2 separate regions of the Homo sapiens genome follow, and region 2 is linked to region 1. The links are contacts of gene promoters, found by promoter capture Hi-C in human tissues and cell types (Jung and others, 2019). All regions are on one chromosome and are shown on one strand. Each heading gives the region's core, a stretch centred on a gene start or on the middle of the fragment in contact. The rest is flanking DNA. Distances are from core to core; before and after follow the strand shown. Region 1 holds the start of ZBED6 (zinc finger BED-type containing 6). Region 2 has its middle 13 kb from the start of PPP1R15B.

Region 1 (7,125 bases), core at 4,323-6,822:
CACAGGGCTACCCTCAGTTTGTAAAGCCCGCAGGGTGGACTAGAGCCTCAGGGTGAAGGCTGGGTCAGCATTTGAATCCAGATTATATGAGAGTCAACACATCCTACTACCGATCTGCTATGCAAATAATGAAGCTTAACCTTCAGGTACCCTTTCTTTCACAAGCTCCCTTCAAGGCTCTGGACAGGGCCTTAGCAATGCAGTCATTCTAAAACTTGCAAAAGTAAGATTTTAATGACAATGGTTAAAAGCCCTGTTTCTTTTCACTCAGCTGTCCTTTCTAGTACCTTCCCCTTATTGGGCATTTTGGGATCTGGCTAAAAGGGGGTTGGGATGCAATTATTTTGGGTTATATTTATGTGATTTACAGTCACTTTCATGGGGCTAGAAATAGTTTTCAAGAATACCCCTGTTGCCCACTGTAGTGACTCATCTAGCATTATGACCCAATGTTGTAGGGCCAGAGGTCACATTTTGTTTTAAACCTGCCCTACAGCATCTGGCACTGGAAGAATGTAAATCATTGAGGGGTGACAAGGTTTGAAACATATGGCATCAGAGGCTAGTCTGTGGAAAATTCTTCACACGTCTAAAATTTTTTTTTTTTTTGAGATGGAGTCTCGCTCTGTCGCCCAGGCTGCAGTGCAGTGGCGCAACTTGGGCTTACCGCAACCTCTGCCTCCTGGGTTCAAGCAACCTCTGCCTCCTGGGTTCGAGTGATTCTCCTGCCTCAGCCTCCCAAGTAGCTGGGACTACAGATGCATGCCACCACACCTGGCTGATTTTTGTATTTTTAGTAGAGAGGGGGTTTCACCATGTTGGCCAGGCTGGTCTTGAACTCCTGATCTCAGGTGATCCACCTGCTTTGGCCTCCCAAAGTGCTGGGAATACAGGTGTGAGCCACTGCACCTGGCCACACATCTAAAATTTTATTTTTTTTTTATTTTTTTTTTTCAGATGGAGTCTTGCTCTGTTGCTCAGGCTGGAGTGCAGTGGCATGATCTTGGCTCACTGCAACCTCTGCCTCCCGGGTTCCAGCGATTCTCCTGCCTCAGCCTCCTAGGTAGCTGGGATTACAGGCGCATGCCACTACGCCCGGCTAATTTTTGTATTTTTAGTAGAGACGGGGTTTCACCATGTTTGGCAGGCTGGCCTTGAACTCCTGATCAGGTGATCTGCCCGCCTCGGCCTCCCAAAGTGCTGGGATTACAGGCATGAGTCGCTGTGCCTGGCCATATCTAAAATTTTAAATGGACGAGTCAGTTATCACTAACAGCTGGCATGGTAGCAAGCCTCCAAGAAAGACCCCAATGATCCCTGGCTCCTGTTACCATGCCCTTGCTTAGTCCCCTCCCACATAATGCCAGTGTTAATCTGTGTGATCAATAGAATACAGAAGAAATGGTGGTATGTAATGCCCAAGGCTAGGTCATAAAAGGCATTGCAGCTTATAGTGTCTATCTTTACTATTTCTCTCGTCATTCACTCTGGGAGAAGCTTGTTGCCTATATCCTGAGCAGCCCTACGGAGAGGCCCTCAGAGTGAGAAACTGAGGTCTCATCTCCTGTTAACAGCTATATGAGTTGACTTGGAAATGTATCTTCTAGCCCCAGTCAAGCCTTCAGATGACTGCAGTCCTGGCCAACTTGATTGCAAACTCATTAGAGACTCTGAGTCAGAACCATCCAGCCAAACTGCTTCTGAATTCCTGACCCACAGACACGTGAAATAACAAATGTTTGTTCCTTAAGCCACTACATTTTTGGGTGATTTTTTACATAGCAATAAATAATAGATTTAGTAAAAATGGTAGCTCTTGCCTGGCCAAGAGGGTATTAAATAATTCAATAAAGTCTTAGTGCTTATATATATCTAAGAAACTTGATAGAAGCTGTACCAAATTTGACAATAATCATACATATATATTTTTTTTTCTTTCTTTTTTTTTTTTTTGACTGAGTCTCACTCTGTCGCCCAGGCTGAAGTGCAGTGGTACACAATCTCAGCTCACTGTAATCTCCACCTCCCGGGTTCAAGGGATTCTGCTGCCTCAGCCTCCCAAATAGCTGGGATTACAGGTGCACGCCACAACATCCAGCTAATTTTTGTATTTTTAGTAGACATGGGGTTTTACCATGTTGCCCAGGCTGGTCTTGAATTCCTGGGCTCAAGTGATCCACTGGCCTGGGCCTCCCATAGTGCTGGGATTACTGGCATGAGGCACTGTGCCCAGCCACAGTTTTTTTTTTTTTTTTAATGTGTAATTTGTTGTGATTTCCTTTTCTAGTCTAAATAAAGATTCTCTTGAACCTAATTTTGTCTCAATAATTTTGCATTTTTTCCCCAAACTTTTGCTCTCAAAGCAAAAACACACTGAACGTCCCAAAAGGTTTTGTCATTCACTGAAGAGGTCTAGATATGTTTAAAATCCATTTAGAATTTGAAGGGCAGTATGAATAGGGGGAATCTGGCATTGTGTCCTTGGTTTAGATACTTCACCCCCACTTATAACATACAAAGGGCAAGCCCAGCCCCACCCCTGAGAATTCTGTGTGTATATATGGGGGGGTGGGGAAGGTTGGCATGTGCACTCTCCTGACTCTTAGAGGGTTTCCCAACTAGTTTTCTCTCTCTGCAACAGCCTTAGGCTTTTTCTCCTGCCTTTTTTTTTTTTTTTTTCTGTGAGACAGGTTCTCTCTCTGTTGCCCAGGTTGGAGTGCAGTGGTGCAATCTTGGCTCACTGCAAACTCTGCCTCCTGGGTTCAGGTGCTTCCCTGCCTCAGACTCCTGAGTAGCTGGGATTACAGGCGGGTGCCACCACACCCGGCTAATTTTGTATTTTTAGTAGAGACAGGCTTTCGCCACGTTGGCCAGGCTGGTCTTCACCTCCTGACCTCTAGTGATCTGCTGGCCTGGGCCTCCCAAAGTGCTGGGATTACAGGCGTGAGCCCCTGCCCAGCTTGCCCTCTTCAATGTCCTTATTACCCTATTATTTTTTCTTTCCCCCCCTTGAGAGATACTAATGGAAAATGAAACATGATTGTTTCCATCAATAAGGGACTGGTGAAATAAATTGTAAAAAGAGGCTTACAGAGAGCGGGATGGGAGCTATTAAAAAGAATGTAGGCCGACGTGGGCAGATTACCTGAGGTTAGGAGTTCCAGACCAGCCTGGCCAACATGGAGAAACCCCGTCTCTACTAAAAATACAAAATTAGCCTGGCGTGGTGGTGCATTCCTGTAATCCCAGCTACTCAGGAGGCTGAGGCAGAAGAATAGCTTGAACCCGGAAGGCGGAGGTTGCATTGAGCCGAGATTGTGCCATTGCACTCCAGCTTGGGAAACAAGAGTGAAACTCTGTCTCAAAAAAAAAAAAAAAAAAAAGAATATGGTAGGCCTCTAAGTGCTGATGACCATTAAAAGATATTCAAGATATATTGTAAAGTGAAAAAAGCAAATTGCAAAACGGTATGTATAGTTTTAGCCTGTTCATATTTTCATTCATTCTAAGATGTACATCCTTTCCTAGCCTGTCACCTAGGCTGGAGTGCAATGGCGTGATCTTGGCTCACTGCAACCTCCACCTCCCAGGATCAAGCAATTCTCTTGCCTCAGCCTCCAAGTAGCTGGGATTACAGATGCGTGCCACTGTGCTGGGCTAATTTTTGTATTTTTAGTAGAGGCAGGATTTCACCATGTTGGCCAGGCTAGTCTCGAACTCCTGACCTTGTGGTTCGCCCGCCACAACCTCCCAAAGTGCTGGGATTAGAGGTGTGAGCCACCCTGCCCGGCCGGCCTGTCAGTTTAATTGGCAGTTGTTGGTTTTTTTCTTCCACTTAGAGGCTTGTAAAATAAAAGTGTATCTTACAATCAATGATACTTTAGGTTTACTGAAATATAACTATAAACTCTATATAGCACACTAGTCAGGCCAGGACTGCATCTTGGAGAGTCCTAGGTTGGAAAACCCTTAAGCTATGTGGAGAGCCCTCTGGTAAATTTTAAAAACCCTAGGTGTCGTGGCACAGACAGAAATTGGTTACCAGTAAGAGTCACACAGACCAAAAAAATGAAGACCAAAACAAAAGAAAAAGAAAAAGAAAGAAAAAAAGAAATTGGCTACCAGGAACTTGCTTATTAGGTCTGTTGACATGGCAATGCCAGAGCACTGTCACGTAAGGCAGAGATTGGAGCTAAGATTCTAAAGTTGTGGTTCTTACTTTGAAAGGAGATAAAAGCCCAGATATGAGGAGGCTCAGGACCCCTCTGCTCTGATAAATTCCTAGTCTTGGGCTGCCTGGGACTCGCACATCACCAACCCGGCAGCTGGAAGAACAAGCACACGAGGAAATAAAAGGTGCCTGAAGTCCCATCTGCTTTATCATCAAGTGTTTCCTTTCTTAGTAGCACAACTATATCCTTTACCCAAGTTAGGTAAAATGTTGCCACCTAATTAGAGTTCTGCTGAGCCACTACCCCAGGGGGACCTTGGGCTCCTATTATATGTGTAATATATTTAAGTATATTTTCAGTGTAAAAGCCAGAAAGGATATATGGTAAGTTAATGAGAGCTATTTCTCAAGAATGAGATTAATAGAGATTTTAACTTTCTACTCTCTATATTTCTGTATTGTTTCTAAAAAAACTTACGTGTATTAAGTTTTTTACTTTTTTTTTTTTTTTTTTTTTTTGAGATGGAGTCTTACTCTGTCGCCAGGTTGGAGTGCAGTGGTGCGATGTCAGCTCAATGCAACCTCTGCCTCCCAGATTCAAGCGATTCTCCTGCCTCAGCCTCTCGAGTAGTTGGGACTACAGGCGCGTGCCACCACGCCTAGCTAATTTTTGTATTTTTGGTAAAGATGAGGTTTCACCATGTTGACCAGGATGGTCTCGATCTCTTGACCTTGTGATCCGCCTGCCGAGGCCTCCCAAAGTGCTGGAATTACAGTCGTGAGCCACCGCACCGGCCACGTGTATTACTTTTATAACCGGGGGAAAAAGTAAAAACATTCAAAAGGGAAAATAAGGGACAATGTTAATAATGAAGCAGGGATGAGACTGCTGATTGCGACCTCCAACTAACTCTCCTGAATTTTGTCACGAGCATGAATTACTTTTCCAATACACAAATTTGCTTTAAGAAATCAAAGAAACACCCCCCCAAAGCCCAATCTCACTTCTTCAAGTAAAAAATAAACTAACAAATCATTCTACATTGCATGCTTAGGAAAAGTACAGTTTATTTCTAAATTAAATGTATACATGGTTTGGGAGATTTACTCATTAAGCAAACACTTTGGTAAGAATAAATTGAGCGCTTACTGAATGGCAGTCTCAGTTCCTGCGGCCCTCCCGCTTATTACCTCATTTGATTTAAAAACAAAAACAAAACGTTATGAAAGCCGGCTTCGAGGCATTCCTCTGAAGGGAAGGGACTCCCCGACCCAGCGCCTCCCCCGTCACGTGACCCTGTGACCCGGAGCAGCCATCTTAGGCATCGCCTCATAGAGGAACTACATCTTCCAGAATCCTCGCGCCCTGCGTCGTGCTGGCACTTTTACCGGCCGGGCCTTAGAGCGGAGCCTGTAGCCAGGCGCCATCTTTGACGCTGGCAGTCTTGGTTTTCTGCTAGTGCTGCTGCTGCTGGGAGGACGACGGACGGCAGCGGCCAAGCAAGAAGAAAGACGTGGCAGCAAGCGGGAGTCGGGGATAGTGTCATCGGTTCGGTAAAGTTTCTGTTCTCTGGTAACTAGACCCGTTTTTTTGATTCCCGGGTGGCTTGGGGCCGGGGAGGTGGGGGAGAGGGCGAGGGGAGTGGCAGCGGCCTCCCCTCGCCCCTGGGTCGCGGCCTATCCCGGGAAGTCAGAGCGGATCCTTCAGCTTCGCCGTAACGACCCCTCCCCCCCACCTCCCGGTCGCGGCCCTCGCCGGGGCTGGCTGGGAGCCCCAGGCTCCCGCTCACTTTTCCCATCCTCCCCACCCCCACCCCGTTCACCCCACCCCCACGGCGCCTGCTCCTTTCCCAGCCAACCTTCCTCCCCTCCCCCACATCCGGTGTTCGCTAATCTCGAGGAGCCCGGAGCAGCCCCGAAAACCGACTGTTCCCCCGAATCCCGAAGAGAGAACTGACACTAGATTGCTTTCTTCGGGGCAACAGTTTCTCTAGTTGAGCGGACCCTCACTGCCTAAATCAATCAGACTGAGTGCCGGGCGCTGAATTTACCTACTCTCATTCCTCTCCAGGGTCCCGGTACTTTGGAGCTTGTCTCAAACTCCACATACAGAAAGCCACCGACCTTATTCCGGTATCCTACACCCATTCCCCACTCTCATTACACTCCCACCCCTGGCCCTCAGCGTCGGAGTCAAGAGCAACAGGGACACTTCCGTTCTCCTTGTAGGACTGGTGAAACCGTAATGAAGAACACCCCTAAACTCCCATAATCGGTGCGGATTCCTATGGGGAAGGCCTATATTGTTGACATCTTCCAGGCCTTGGTTCTGGACCTTGAGAAAGAGGCTGTGGAACTAGAGATAGCGATGCTTTTTAGGGTAAATGTATGTAGGTATTGGGGGAAGGGGAGGGATCAATCGAAAAATGGAAGTGGTTTAAAGTTCATATTTCACTTTTTGCTATCTCTATAGCGTACAACTTGTGAGTTACTTACAGGCTGTAAAAGCTTCTCAAGTCTAAAAATATCTGAAAACTAAACTTGAATTAACTCTTAATACAAACAGTACTTTGAAAATGCAGCATTTAACCTTGTTTTAAAATTTTTTTCTCAAAGCATTTTTTTCCAGCCACTCACATTTTAAAAGGTTGTATTACTTTTAGTTAGAACTGAAAGGGCTCAACTAGCATTTGCTGTGACCAGTATGCGGAGTCTGTGTTGGCTTTCCAGAATTGACTTTTTGGGTTGTATTGGCAAATCACAGTCCTAAATGATGAATGTTGAATGATGCACTATGTTTTTGTTTAAATGAGATTTCCTGAAAATAGTTAATTTCAGAATTAAGGGAAATTGATGTCGCTATCATGAGGCATCATAAAAATATGTATTTTACAAGGTGAAGGCATTTCAAGTAGATATAGTTCTTGATGAAGCAGGAAGAACATGGATCTGGG
Region 2 (7,231 bases), core at 1,284-3,783, 600 kb after region 1:
TAAACTTAAAAAGACTTACAATATCAAGTGTTGGCAAGGATGTGGAGCAACTGGAGCTCATACGCTGCTGCCAAGTAGTATAGCCACTTTGGAAAACTGTTTGGGAGTTTCTTATATAATTAGATATATACTTACCATATGATCCAGCAGTCTCACTCCTGGATTTATCAAAAAGCAATGAAATCATATGTCCACTCAAACGCTTGTACTCAACAGTTCATAGAAGCTTTATTCATAATAGACACAAATTTATATGTGCTTATATATGTATATGTTTATATGTTTATATATGTAGTCATGTTTATATAACTACACATATTTATCAAAACTCATTGAATTCATACTTAAACAAGCCAACTGTTTATTATCTAGTAAATGAACAAATAGTGGTATAATTATACAATGAAATACTACTCAGCCATGAAAAGGAATGGACTACTGATACACTCAACAGAAGGAATGGACTGCAGAGACACTCAACAGCACAGATGAATCTCAAAAGCATTACAGTAAAGAAGCCCACCACAGAAGGGTCCATGCTGTACATCCGATACCATTTTTCTGAAATTCTAGAAGAGCTAAAAGTGTTGAAAGCAGATCAAAGGCCAGACGTGGTGGCTCACACCTGCAATCCCAGCATGTTGGGAGGCCAAAACAGGCAGATCTCTTGAGCCCAGAAGTTCAAGACTAGCCTGGGCAACATGCCAAAACCTTATCTCTACTAAAAATACAAAAAAAAAAAAAAAAGCAAAAACAAAAACAAAAAAAAAAAAACAAAAAACCAGCTGGGTGTGGTCGCACACAGCTGTAGTCCCAGCTACTCAGGAGGCTGAGGTGGGAGGATCACCTGAACCCAGGGAGATAAGGCTGCAGTGAGCCGTGATCACACCACTACACTCCAGCCTGGGTGACAGTAAGACCCTGTCTGTCAAAAAAAAAAAAAAAGACAAAGAAAAGAAAAGCAATGGCTGCCAAAAGCTGGAGGTTGGGAAGGGGACCGAATACAAAAGAACATAAGGGAACTTTCTGGGTGATGGAAATGATCCATATTTTGATAGTGGTGGTGTTTATATGACTACACGTGTTTATCAAAACTCATTGAATTCATACTTAAAATGAGTGAAACTTATTGTAAATTATACTTTAATAAGTTAATAAAAAACAAGAAGTGGGTTGGGGAGACGTTGCTCAAAGGATACAAACTTTCAGTGAGGAGGAATAAGTTCAAGAGATCTACTGTACGACATGGTGACCATAGTCAATAACAATGTATTATATTCTTGCAAATTGGCCAGGTGAGGTGGCTCACACCTGTAATCTCAACACTTTGGGAGGCAGGAGGAACACTTAAGCCTAGGACTTCAAGACCAGCCTGGGCAATATAGGGAGATCTCGCCCCTACAGATAACTTAAAAATTAGCCTGTTGTGGTGGTGTGAGCCTGTGGTCCCAGCTACTCGGGAAACTGAGGCAAGAGGATTGCCTGAGCCCAGGAGGTTGAGGCTGAAGAAAGCCATGATCATGCCACTGCACTCCAGCTTGGCAACAGAGCAAGGTTCTGTCTCAAAATAAATAAATACATAAATAAATAATAAAATAAAATAAAATAAATAAATAAAAAGCCCAGGCGTGATGGCTCACGCCTGTAATCCCAGCACTTTGGAAGGCCAAGGCAGGCAGATCACCTGAGCTCAGGAGTACGAGACCACCCTGGGCAACATGGGGTGAAACCTGTCTCTACTAAAATACAAAAAATTAGCCGGGTGTGGTGGCACGCGCCTGTAGTCCCAGCTACTTGGGAGGCTGAGACATGAGAATTGCTTGAGCCCAGGACGCGGAGGTTACAGTGAGGCGAAATTGCACCACTGCACTCCAGCTTGTCTCAAATAAATAAATAAATAGAAAAAGGAAATTGCTAAGAGTAGATTTTAAGGGTTCTTACCACAAAAAAAATGCTAAGTATGTGAGGTAATACATGTTAATTAGCTTGACTTACCATTCCACAATGTACACATATTTCAAAACATCATGTTGTAGACAGTAAACATATACAATTTTTGTCAATTTAAAAAACAGAAAAGTTTAAAAAACAATGTCCTCAACCATCTTAGAAAACTGGATATGAATGGTATCCTGCATAATGAAGTGCCTTTCATAACGATGACAATGTTTCAGCGAACCTTAGGCTACCACTGGAAAGAGTAGTCATGACGACCTTACATCAACTGATTTAAAACTTTGGGTTTCAGGTCATCACTAATAATGCTAGCTTTTCAAAAAAAAAAAAATCAAATACTACAAATACAAAATAATGTAAACATTGAAGATAGACCTTTTCACATACAAAATTGCTTCTTTGAAATGAATTCATAAATTACTTGTTATGTCGGGAGGGAGCCTGTGTGTTGGAAAAAAGAGGCTATGGAAATTACCACTTGAGTTAAAGAAAAGTGTATCATGTGTCTAAAATACTCTGGTCACTGCGCAGACCCTTCCACCACAGAGGAAGAAAGGAAAGAGCAAATCACAATTAAAATTCAATGTGACTTGAACAGTGATAAAAAAGTATACAAGGGCCAAGTGAGGTGGCTCATGCCTGTAATCGCGACACTTTGGGAGCCCCAGGCAGTAGGATCTCTTGAAGCCAGGAGTTTGAGACCAGCCTAGGCAATATAATTAGACCCCATCTCTACACACAAAAATAATAAAATTAGCCAGGCAATGTGGTGCATGCCTGTGGTCCTAGCTACTTGGGAGGCTGAGGTGGGAGGATTGTTTAAGCCCAAAAGTTGGAGGCTGCAGTGAGCTATGACCGTGCCACTGTACTCCAGCCTAGGCCTGGGCGACAGCAAGACTCAAAAAAAAAATCAGTTCCTTTGTTTGTGTTCAAATACAAATCTTGGTTCTCCTATAAGAAAGAGCCCCTACTTCTGGGTAATTACCACAAAAAGGTGGAGTCACACTGGGCCAGGCAGGCCTGGAATGGGCAGGGCAGGGCAGTTTTCCAGCTTGTTTACACATTGAGGGACCCACCTCCAGGGGAGCAATAGCAACCAGATCTGTAATAACAGGTGTCCATCAGGCACTCCCAGATGGAAGATAACGCCATCTGGTGGAGACAACAGAGCATCACTAGAAACCCAAAGCCAATCTTCTGCCAAAGAGCTAAAACCCCTGGTGTGGTGGCAAGAATACTCTGGTACTCCAATGCAGCCTATTAATTCTGGGAAAGGAGGGTCTCAGTTGATTTGCTCGCATATTAAATTCATAAATTAACAATGTGTCTTATATTAATAATGACACTAGAATTAATGGATGTGGTATACCTAGCCAAATTGAAATTTGTAATTACTTTCTACAAATTTAGTTAAAGCTTACGGTAGCTTTTCTCTAAGGACATTTAAATTCTGTGATTCTACATCATCTGATGATTGTGGCACACTTGTTTCTGGTCAGACAAGGCTGTGTGGATGAAACTTCAATAAAGCTGATAAGAGAGGTGACTTTGGGAAAGCTATTAACTTGGCCAGGCCCAGTGGCTCACACATGTAATCCCAGCACTTTGGGAGGCCAAGGCAGGAGGACTGCTTGAGGCCAGGAGTTGCTATATGGGCAACATAGCCAGACCCCATCTCTATTTATATATATTAAAAAAAAGAGTCCAGGCGTGGTGGCTCACGCCTATAATCCCAGCATTTTGGGAGGCCAAGGCAGGCAGCTCATGAGCCCAAGAGTTCGAGACCAGCCTGGGCAACATGGTGAAACCCCATCTCTACAAAAAAATTAAAGTTAGCTGGGTGTGATGGCATCTGCCTGTAGTCCCAGCTACTTAGGAGGCTAAGGCAGGAGAATCGCTGGAGCCTGGGAGGCGGAGGTTCAGCACCAAGATTGCACCATTGCACTCCAGTCTGGGTGATGGGAGTGGAACCCTGTCTCAAAAAAAAAAAAAAAAGTTGTTATTCAACAAATATTTATTGACTATAGCATACCAGACACAGTTCTAGGCTCTGGACTCATAAACGACAAGATCCCTGTTCTCATGGAGTTTACAGACTAGTGAGGGTGGTGGTAGATGAGAAACAAGTAAAAATGTTAACAAGATGAGGGCAGAGTGAACATAATTTTAAAAGGTACTGTGAGAGAAAAAGGAGGGGTTGGGGGATAGAGTGATCAGAGGGCTCTTTGAGGTGATTATTTGAGATCCAAAGAGGAACTAGTCTTTCATGATAAAATGCGGTCTTAAAAACACCCACTTCAGAACATATATCCAGATAAGTCTTTTTCAAAACCCCTGGGACTCCTCTGGTTTTTGCCTTCAGAGCCCATTAAGAAAAGGAGGTATGGCTGGACCTGACGACTCATGCCTGTAATCCCAGCACTTTGGGAGGCCAAGGTGGGCTACTTGCTTGAGTTCAGTAGTTTGAGACCAGCCCGGGCAACATAGTGAGACCCTGTCTCTACAAAAAATAGGTGAGCAAAGTGGTGCACACCTATGGTCCCAGCTACTCGAGAGGCTGAGATAGGAGGATTGCCTAAGCCTGGGAAGTCGAGGCTGCAGTGAGCTGTGATCATGCCACTGTACTTCAGAGCCTGGGTGACAGTGAGACACTGTCTCAAAAAAAAAAAAAAAAGAAAAGAAGGCTTAACTCAAAGCAGCATTTACTATCACCTCTTTCTTTGACCCTGAATATCCTTGGAATGTTTCTGAAAGTTAATCCATCTTTTTTATTTTCAACATTTTTGAGACAGGGTCTCACTTTGTCGTGCAGGCTGCAGTGCAGTGATTCAATCACAGCTCCCAACTCAGCCTCCCAAGTAGGTGGGACTACAGGCATGCACTACCTTGCCCAGCTAATTTCTTTTTCTTTTTTTTTTTTTGTATTTTTTGTAGAGATGGTTTTGCCATGTTGCCCACACTGGTCTTGAACTCCTGGGCTCAAGAGATCCTCCCACCTTGGCCTCCCAAAGTGCTGGGATTACAGGCATGAGCCACCACCCCTGGCCAATCCAATCTTAAGTATAAATATTTACCCAACATTTTAGTGGGAAAATGTGCAGTGAGCTCTGTAGAAAAGTCAAGAACCGTGTGAGGTCCTTTCTTCTCGCATCTCTGGCAATTGTGCTCTTCTTTTGCTATTAAGTTCTTCATCCTTCTTCTTGGTAGGGATCTATAAAACAGTAGTGAAAATAAAATATTCAGCAAATAAAGGCAGGAGGAAACATAAAGGATATTACTGAGATAAAGGGGGAAGTATAAAAGATTACAAGAACAAAACCTGAAAAATTGTTCCAAAGCTGCTTCCCTTGTTGTACAGCTTTCCAGGCCTTGCGGCTCTCAGGCTCATTAGATCTCTAGGGTATCCTCCCCATGGGTCAAGCAACCTACTTTCCACAAACCTAGTTTCCCCTGTCTCTCTCTGATAAGATTAAGGCGTCTGCCAGTGGTGAAACACTGATGTAACTCAAATTGCTTACATGGTAATACATAACTCCTACTCTCAACTGCCTTCTCCGTTCCATGTGTAGAATGAGTTAGTTCTCTTTAAATTCCCTGATGTCAAACCTGTCACTGAAACATATTGGTTGAAAGCATCATAGGTCCTGCTTGATGAATCCTCAAAGTCAGCAGGGTTAGAAGAGATTTACGTATCCTCTTTATGATACCGATTATTATAGATCTCAATAGCATGCTGCCAACACAGACTTAAGTCTCGCTGGAGCACATCCAGGAAGGAAAAGATTGGTGTTTTGTGTTGATCACAAAACATTCAACTAAGTTCATAAGGAAAGATTCCAAATAGCTAACCTGTGTATCATTAAATAACTCTCAAAACCTCTTTTTACAGATAAAAGGAAATTAAGTCTCTCAGCTCAGAAAGGTACCCTGGGAAGCATTATTTTTTAATGTACCAAAAATGTCTTTGTACATCTCTGTATTAGATGCTTTTATAAACAACGTGCATTATGAGAAAAAAATGAAAATTTCCCATTTTTATTTTAAAAAGGTACAGAGAATAGAGTCCAAATGAAGTCTCCAAATGACAATATGCCAGAGAACACCAAATTCCCAAATCTGAGTAACTATCTAAATTTCTGAGGTCTCAGCCTGGACAACATGGCAAAACCCCATCTCTACAAAAAACAGAAAAATTAGCTGAGTGCGGTGGTGTGCACCTGGAGTCCCAGCTACTCAGAAGGCTGAGGTGGGAGAATCGCTTGAGCCTGGGAGGTTGAGGCTGTTGAGGCTACAGTGAGCCAAGATCGCACCAATGCACTGCAGCCTGGAGGACAGAGCAAGACCATCTCAAAAAAACAAGAAATTCTGAGGTCAGCAATTAAATATTTGCTTTTAACTTTCTACTAAAGTACAAAAGAAAAATAACACAATTTCTATGAAATATCAGGATAAGCATAGCAATAAATCTGGCTTAATGTAAATGTAGCCATTTTCACATATATTACTGGGGAATGGCAGACATGCTTCAATTAACCCCAAGATAGAAATAAAATTATAACCCGGGGATGTCAACTCAGTTTGTACTAAATATTGTTTAACTGCAACTAAATGTTAGTTTCTTTCCTTCCAGTTCAGAAATATATCTTAATAACTTTTCTTCATTATCCTTTCATCTTGAAAGTGCCTGAATTAAGAGTGCTATTATTCTTTCATCCATTAATAGGGTTGCCATAACCCAAATGCTTTCTTTTTCGGAGTAAAAATTTTTTTCTGATAACATTTATTCTTTTGAGACAGTCTCAATGATCCATATATCTAGTATTAAAGCATGATTCCATCTGACTTTATTTTTTGAGACAGAGTCTATCACCCAGGCTGGAGTACAATGGTGGAATCACAGCTCACTGCAGGCTTGAACTTCTGTGCTCAAGCAACCCTCCTGTCTCAGCCTCCCCAGTAACTGGGTCTATAGGCTAGGACCACAGGTGTGCGCCACCATGGGCCAGTTTTTTTGTTTTTTTTTGTAGAGGAAAGTGTCTCACTATGTTGCTCAGGCTGGTCTTGAACTCCAGGCCTCAAGCAATCCTCCCACCTCAGCCTCCCGAAGTGCTGGAATTACAGGCGTGAGCCACCATACCTGGCCCACTTTTGTAAATGAGAGATCATCATGATTTTACAATACCATGATTATCGTGATTAGTAACACACAAAATAGCCAGACACGGTGGCTCACGCCTGTAATCCCAGCACTTTGGGAGGCCGAGGCAGGAGGGTC

What was found. The method cuts DNA at HindIII sites, captures the fragments that hold promoters and counts their contacts. A contact is called where the count stands out against the background at its distance.
Region 2: a fragment that was not itself captured here is called in contact with the fragment with the promoter of ZBED6 in region 1 in 1 of the 25 tissues and cell types used here (dorsolateral prefrontal cortex).

Annotation. Positions count from the first base shown.
Region 1 is chr1:203,790,051-203,797,175 of GRCh38, forward strand. ZBED6 (zinc finger BED-type containing 6) reads left to right here and starts at 5,573. Exons shown (of 17, transcript NM_001395895.1): 1 at 5,573-7,125. It overlaps ZC3H11A (zinc finger CCCH-type containing 11A), which reads left to right and starts at 5,573. Exons shown (of 18, transcript NM_001376342.1): 1 at 5,573-5,744. RefSeq lists enhancers at 61-230, 5,274-5,693. The HindIII fragment of the contact is 6,581 bases long and covers 816-7,125 here.
Region 2 is chr1:204,395,623-204,402,853 of GRCh38, forward strand. It overlaps a transcript of PPP1R15B not described here. Among named protein-coding and RNA genes, the nearest start is that of PPP1R15B, 13 kb to the right of the region's middle. The HindIII fragment of the contact is 6,586 bases long and covers 1-5,826 here.